Linked DNA regions of Homo sapiens: region 2 is linked to region 1. Evidence: promoter capture Hi-C in human tissues and cell types (Jung and others, 2019). All regions are on one chromosome and are shown on one strand. The core of a region is centred on a gene start or on the middle of the fragment in contact, and the rest is flanking DNA. Distances in the headings are between cores, read along the strand shown. Region 1 holds the start of ABI1 (abl interactor 1). Region 2 has its middle 4.2 kb from the start of LINC03028.

Evidence for each region. Contacts are between HindIII fragments. The study calls those that stand out against the background at their distance.
Region 2: a contact is called between a fragment that was not itself captured here and the fragment with the promoter of ABI1 in region 1, in 2 of the 25 tissues and cell types used here (dorsolateral prefrontal cortex and spleen).

The regions. Positions count from the first base shown.
Region 1 is chr10:26,859,489-26,863,567 of GRCh38, forward strand. It overlaps ABI1 (abl interactor 1), which reads right to left and starts at 1,470. Exons shown (of 11, transcript NM_001012750.3): 1 at 1,259-1,470. The coding sequence starts at 1,375. RefSeq lists silencers at 843-992, 1,103-1,192 and an enhancer at 1,513-1,712. The HindIII fragment of the contact is 8,705 bases long and covers 1-3,716 here.
Region 2 is chr10:26,573,081-26,577,159 of GRCh38, forward strand. No RefSeq gene overlaps it. Among named protein-coding and RNA genes, the nearest start is that of LINC03028, 4.2 kb to the right of the region's middle. The HindIII fragment of the contact is 4,216 bases long and covers 48-4,079 here.

The sequences.
Region 1 (4,079 bases), core at 220-2,719:
GCCTTACCAAAAGCAAGAGCATTCCTGGTGCCTTTATATTTATACAAAGGACTGTGCTACTTTGTTTCTAGCGCAAACTGTTGGTTTACACAGTTAAAGATCTTCAAAACAAACTACCACACACAATTCACTTCCAATCATCCAAAGAGAAACGAACAAACAAGCATCTGTCACAAAGTCCCAAGAGTTTTCTAATTTACAATAACAGATATTTTTACGTTGTAGTTCAGAGGCTACCTCTGTTCGTTTCTGTATTTGGATTCACATACTATACATTTACTTAGCTTGTTAAGAGAGAAACCTCAGAAAATAAGCAACCGGCGATGACACCAGTCTATTTTAAGTTACTTATGAAGCCTACAGCTCAAGAACTTTTGGGAGAAGGGAGGGTAAGCCGTTTTTCCAAGGAGTTAAGAACAATTCGTGTTTGATAATTAATGATAGCAGCCCTAACAACCTCTTAGAATACATTATGGTGGGGCGGAAGTGAAAACGATGAGAGGGGGAAAAAAATAAAAAAAACCCGACTTGAAAATGGACAAGCAGACAGATTTACAAACCTTCAATTAAAGGAATTTTAAGATGAACTTCTCTCAAACGCCCTCCCTCACTCCCCACACCCGCTTCCTCCTCTCCTCCGGGAGGTCGGTGTAATGTGACTCATGACAAATTTTTTTTAAATAAATAAATAAATAAAAGACACACCCTCTGGGGGCTGAAACTGACATAATCGCCCCCACCCCACCCTCCGCCGACACACAACACACACCCCGCTGGTCCTCTCCCTTCTGCGGCTTCAGCCTCGTCCCTGCCCTCTCCTCTCCCCTCTCCCGTCCTGGACCTCCTCTCCCGGCGCAGAGAGGCGGCGCGGCGGCAGCTCGGGGGTATTCCGGGACTCCAGCCCTGCGGACTGGAGGCTACCTGGGGGGCGCGCGACCCCGGTGGCCGGGCCCTGGGGGAAGCGGACGCGAGGGGGGCGCCGGGCTGCGGCAGCGGCGGGCTCCCGGCTCCCTCGCCCATTTTCTCTCTCCCCTTCTATCGGTTTCCACCACCACAGCCACTTCCTGTATCGCAGCCCGACTCCCTCAGCCCGGCCACTCGCTCTGTCCCCGGTTGGGGCTGGGGTTGGGGCTGCGGTAGGGGCTCGGGTTGGTGGCAGCCGCTGAGGTCAGGGCAGTTCCCCACCCCGCCCAGTGGGCTGGTCACTCCGGCGGGTCCTCGACCCGGCCAGCGCCCGCCGGCCGCCAGAGCGCCTCACCTGTATGTAGTTGTTTTCACAGTAGTCTGCCACCCGAGTCAGGTTCTGGTAACTCTCGATCAGCGCCCTCTTGCCAGACGGGATCTCCTCCTCTAGTAACATCTGCAGCTCTGCCATTTTCCACCCCTCTGCATCGCTTCCTCTCGCGTTAAAGAGACAGAGGCAGCAAGGTCCGCCGAGGCTCCGAGCACCTCACAGCCCGGATACAAACCGCCTACCCGCCCTCCCGCCTGGTATTGTGGGACGGCACCTCCTCCCCTTCCTCCTCACTCTCTCCAGCCCCCCTCCACCCCCTTCGTGCAGCCGCCTGAACCTCGTTCTCTCGCGAGCGTTTATTTCTCCCACCCCCACGGACCGCGGGATTTTTTTTTTCTTTCGCACTGTCTTCTGGGAATTGTAGTCTCTCCTAGGCTAGGCGGCCCGTCCAAAGCGCATGCGCCCAGACACCTCCGAAAACCAACGCGGCAGAGCGCAGAAAGCGGAGACCGAGGGTGGAGGGAGGGGGCGGTGTTGGGGGGAAGTCCGGAGTTTCCTCACAGCTCCGGAAGGTGGCGCCACAGGGTGATACTGGGGGAATGAAATCGGTTCCCCAAGTTTCATGTGAAACTTGGCAGAACTTGGTTAATTAGGAAATGTCAGTGAATCAAGGACACCCATTCAGAGAAGGATTAAAAAGGGGACAGAGTACGGAAAACTAGATTTTTACTTCCTCTGCCTTCTTAGAAATAAAGCGAGTCAGGCTTTACTTTCTGAAGTTCCGCCCCCATCAATTCATTTAAAATTTAGCAAACATTTCTTGATTGCCAGCTGTTTACCAAGCAGCGTACTAGACACTGGGGGTACAAGTTGAGTACGAATACTCCGTACCCTTAAAGACTCAATTATAAAATAAACATACATAGCTTGTAGTGCTTTCCTGTCCTAATTTCTCTTTTCTCTGACTCTCCTTATCATGTAATCTTCCTACACTTTTAAGGTCATGTGCACGTTTTTTTAGGGGTGGGAGTTGTTTGCTTGTTTGAGACAGGATCTCACTGTTACCCAGCCTGGAGTACAGGGGCACAATCATGGGTCTCTGCAGCCTAGACCTCCTAAAGTCAAGCGATCCTCCTGCCTCAGCCTCCAGAGTAACTGGGACTACAAGCGTCGGTCACTACACCTGGCTGAGCTTTTTAATTTTTTATAGCGACAGGGATCAAATTATGTTGCCCTCGCTCGTCTCGAACCCCTGGCCTCAAGCAATCCTTCTGCCTCAACCTCCCAAACTGCTAGGATTACAATCATGAGCCACCCACCCTGATCCTTCGTTTTTTGCTCCTGGATTTTTGTTTTGTTTTGTTTTTATCACCTGCTTTGGAATAGTCTCAAAAGGCCCTATATTTCAAGCTCTTCACTTCAACAGGAACATTAAATGCTTCGGATATAATCAGCTATGAAAAGTGTTGTCCAAAGACTTTGGACATATGTTCATGTATCTCCATAAAGTCATTTAGAATCAAAATAACTAGGAGTAAAAACATCACTCAACCAAATTAAAAATTGCCAGCACCAGGTATTTATTGAATATTGCCTTTACTGGGGCCTTATTCAGGGCCCCAGGGAACCAGTTTCCCTCTTCGACCTCTGAAAGGAAAAACTCAGTTTCCTACTAAAAACGTTAACTTCCCCTTGCCACCAGATTCTCCATCAAGGAATCTATCAAAAGATAACTATTATACCTATTCCAGATATTATGGAAAGTAATACATTTATTATCTGGAATAGGTGTAATAGTTATCTTTTGATATTTATCGTTAACCCAAACACGACTTAATCCAAGTTATTAAAATTTAATGTATTATTGATCTTGGTCTCTACTTGAGGTTTAACTGTAGAAATCACTCAGTTTGTATATATTCAAATATTGACACATTTCAACAACATTGGGGAAGTGATTAGGGAGGTGATACTAATTTACTATTTTCAACGTACTGTCCATGCAGTTGAGCAATGAATGAATAATAATGATGATGATGATAAATACAAATAAAAAGTACTGTCAGATTTCTTCTCACAACTCTGAGAGACAGATAATATAAATATTATTTTCCTTCCTTATCAAATAAGGAAATTTAAGCTTAGATAGGTTAAGGAGTTTAGCTAAGGGCACTGAAAATGCCGTCAAGTTTCCTAGGTTACTGATTGATATGGTTTGGATCTGCATCCCTGCCAAATCTCATGTTGAATTGTAATCCCTAATGTTGGAGTTGGGACCTGGGGGAAGCGGGAGTGGATCATGGAGCAGATTTCTCACGAATGGTTATGCAGCATCCTGTTGGAACTCTCCTTATGATCTCGAGTGAGTTCTCCTGAGATCTGGTCATTTAAAAGTGTATGACAGCCCAGTGCAGTGGCTTGTGCCTGTAATCCCAGCACTTTGGGAGACCAAGGTGGGAGAATCCACTTGACTCCCAAAATGGGAGACCAACATGACGAACTACTCCCGCTTGAGTTCCAGACCACCCCGAGCAACATGGCAAAAACCCGTCTCTACAAAAAACACGAAAAATTAGCCAGGTGTGGTAGTGAGCACCTGTAGACTCAGCTACTTGGGAGGCTGAAGTAGGAGGATTGCTTGAGCCTGGAAGGCACAGATTGCAGTGAGCCAAGATCACAGCACTGCACTCTAGCCTGGGTGACAGAAGGAAACCATGTCTAAAAAATGAAATAAATGTATATGACACCTCCCCGCCTGCCTCCTGCTCCCCTCCTGCCACATGAGACATTTCTCTTCCCCTTTGCCTTCCTGCCATTTTGGAAGCTTCCTGAAGCCTCCCAGAAG
Region 2 (4,079 bases), core at 906-3,405, 290 kb before region 1:
TATATTTTTAACTCAACTTCCAATTGCTCATCGCTGGTGTTAAAAGAGCAATTGCAATTGACTTTTCTACATTAACCCTGTATGCTGCATCCTTGCTATAACTGCTTGTTAGTTCCCAGAGTTTTTTGGTCAGTTGTCCTGGCGGCCCCCTAAGGATTCCTCCTCTAAACCCAGGGTTGAGACTTTGCATTATTTTCCTCTCCATACATATGACTATCAAAGGCAAGATAGGGGAGAGTGCAAGGCAAGAGTTCCCTGCAGTCTTCTCCACTCTACATCCTTTCATATTGTTAAAGTAAATAGGGGAAATTAACAGTTGTGGAGCAGGTTCTCGGATATTTGCTATGAAAACCTACGTATGGTGATTTGGACTTTCAGAGCTATTATATTCTGGCGGTCTTTGATGAAACTTTAATTTTAACCTATTGTTCAATCAGTATCATTTTTTATTGGAAAAACTCATAGGAGAAAAATCAAATAATTATTTCAATAAATATCAAAAAGGCTTTTGATGAAATTCAACACCACTGCTTGTTAACAAAATTTAAAACTTCATAAGAAGCTAGCATCTGAGGAAGATGTTTTTATACTGATGAAAGGTGTCTGAAACCTACAGCAAAGGACATATTTAATAATAAAGCACAAACAGAAATGTCACTTACATTCATACTACCCAGAATTTGTTTTAATCAGTAACGGTAAGACACACAAACACAGAAATGACTGTCATGAGGGAAGTAGTTTATTTTACTACTCACAGTTCCTTAGAAGCTGTGGGCACAGCACACCACAAGGGGGAGGACAGGGAAACATCAAGGTCAGTCAGGAGGCAACGTGAATGGGGGAAAACATGGGAAAGAATCTTTATTGCAGTTCCATGGGAGGGAACAAGCAAGTCAGGGCAATCAGGCTTAGCATTGGCTAGTTTAAATATTTCATTGTCTTCTGGAAAGAAGAGGCTGCTATCTGGCCCTGAGGAAATTAGAGAGGCAGAACAGTGGCCAGAAATGTCAGAGTGATAAGGAAGAATAAAGACTGCAAAAGAGATAAACAGAGATAAAGAAGAATAAAGAGTGAGGAAGAGATGAGAAAGAAGGGGGTATAAACTCTGGGTTGGTTGGATTATATAGGAAAGTCATGCATGCAGGCAAGTTGTTTATTACATCCAGCAATTAGCCTATCCTCAGAGGGGCAGTCCCTCCAGGGTCAACAAGGCCCAGATTTCAAAGCATCAAATTCAGAAAATAAGAGACAAGACTAATACACCATTAAAGTCAGTATTATAATTAATATTATTCAACATTATCCTGGAGTCTCTAGCCAATGCACACAACAGCAAAACCAACAAGGTAACAAATATCTGAATGGAAAAGACAGACTTTTAAATTCTCAGATGATGTATCTACTTAAAATTTAAAAACCAAGTCAAGCAATCCATTAAAAGCTATTAAGTAGAGAAACTAAAAACTGTCCTGTGTACTATATATCAGTGAAGCTCATTTGTAAAATGTAGTATAAAGGGTGATTCAGAAGAGCAACAAGAACTAAAATATTTTTAGAATTGATAGACAATTTCAAAGTCTATAAGGAAAACTGTAAATGTTTATTGCAGATATAAAAGAAAACATCAGGAAAAAAGAGGTGCAGGTCATCACTGCTCCACCTAGTTCCAATAACTACGATTTAATTAAATAACGTGAGTTCCCCAACATGGTTCCAAATTCAGTTGCCATGGTATTTTAACTGTGAGTAATTACGTAAAGTACAAACTTTGTGTGAGCTCTTCAGTCCACAAATCACAACATAAATAACAGATGCAATCATGATCAGTGACCCATCATCTCTTTCAAATTATGAGGTTGCCAATCACTGCATATTTGTTACTGAGTTTATAAAGAGAACAAAGTATGTCGTTGTCTTGCCTCTTTGTCTCCCAGTGAGACGCTCACGTGACATTTTACAAAAATGAACAATCAAAAGAGGGAAGTGGTCAACAAACATGAAACTGCAAACAAAAAAAAAAAAAAAAGAAAAAAGGGATAACACAAAGTGAAATTCAAATGGAACATAAATGTAGTTATAGAAGAAATAGTGGCCATTCACTGAGGCAGATGTTTGCTCGGTATTTCAATTATTTTTGACAAATAAATCAATTCTGAATCTGACTGAAGCTCTATATTTACAGAAATACAGGGGGCACAGACACATGCTGTGTTAGGTTGTTTTTCTGTTGCTATAAAGAAATACCTGAGGCTGGGTCATTTATAAAGAAAAAAGGTTTAATTGGCTCACAGGTCTGCAGGCTTTACAGGAAGCATGGTGCTGGCATCTGCTCACCTTTTGGGGAGGCCTCTGGAGGTTTCCATTCATGGCAGAAGGCAAAGTGGAAGCAGGCTTCTCACATGGAGAGACTGGGACTAGAGAGCAAGCTAGGGAGGTGCCACACACTTTGAAACAACAGATCTCCTGAGAACTCACTCACCATCAGTGGGACAGCACCAAGTTATGAGGGATCTGTCCCCATGACCCAAACACCTCCCGCAAGGCCCCACCTCCAACATTGGGGATTGTATCTCAACATGAGTATATTAGTACATTTTCACACTGTTATAAAGAAACTACCTGAGACTGGGTAATTTATAAAGGAAGTTTTAATTGACTCATGGTTATGCATGGCTGGGGGTCCTCAGGAAACTTACAATCATCACAGAGGGTGAAGGAGAAGCAAGTCACATCTTACATGGCAGCAGGAGATAGAGAGCGAAGAGGAAATGCCAGACACTTATTAAACTACCATATGTCATGAGAACTCTCTCACTATCACAAGAACAGCATGGGGGAACGGCCCCCATGATCCAATCACCTCCCCACAAGTCCCTCCTTCCACACATGGGGGTCATAATTCAAGATGAGATCTGGGTGGGGACATAGAGCCAAACCATATCAATGAGATTTGGAGGGGACATCCAAACTATATCACAGGTTCAGTAAATAATACCACAGAATGCAATCAGAAAAATGCAGAATGTTGAAATACCACAGGATAAATAATCTGGTTTCTTCAATCGAAACTAAAGGAACCAATGGAGTGCAAGTGAAAAAAGATGTAGGGACACATGTAGGTGATATACTCAAAGATATCAAAGGAAGCTTAAGACGTCTTATCATCTAATTTTAATGTATACTCCTTATTCAAATCCCAATTAAAATAACCATAAGAGGCTGGGCACGGTGGCTCACACCTGTAATCCCAGCACTTTGGGAGGTTGCGGAAGGTGGATCACGAGGTCAGGAGTTCAAGACCAGCCTGGCCAAGATGGTGAAACCCGGTCTCTACTAAAAATACAAAAATTAGCCAGGCATGGTGGCAGGCGCCTGTGATCCCAGCTATTTGGGAGGCTGAAGCAGAGAATTACTTGAACCCAGAAGGCAGAAATTGCAGTAAGCCGAAATTGCGCCACTGCACTCCAGCCTGGACAACAGAGTGAGACTCCGTCACAAAAATAAACAAATAAATAAATAAATAAAATAACTATAAGATAATGCTGATGATAATAATTTACAAGACAATAGGAAAATGTTGAAAACTGACTGAATACTTCATTTGATACATTAAGAGTTATTGCTAATTTGCCTCAAGGTCATATGATGTCAAGGACTGTTTGTGTTCTAAGTCATTAGCATTTAGATATGCATATGGAAATATTTGTAGAGGAAATGATACAATGTCTGAATTTCCAAAAAATTGAGGATACGTATATTATACTTCAATTAAGGCAATAAAGAGGAATATGGAGAAAGTGTGTGGAGGTGTAGATGAAGCAAAATTGGCAATGTATTAATTGTTAGTAAGCTGATTAAATGGTAAATTAGGTTCATTAAACTATTAAAATTTTCTCTACCTTAGTAAATGTTTGAAAATTCTATGATAGAGATAAAAAAATCTCTAGGAGCATAATAAAACTAAATATAGCATAATAAAACTAAATACAGCACTGATATACCCCAAAGTGCTGAGTTTACAGTAAATACTAGATCAATATTTAATAATCCATTTTTTTTTAGACAGAGTTTCAATC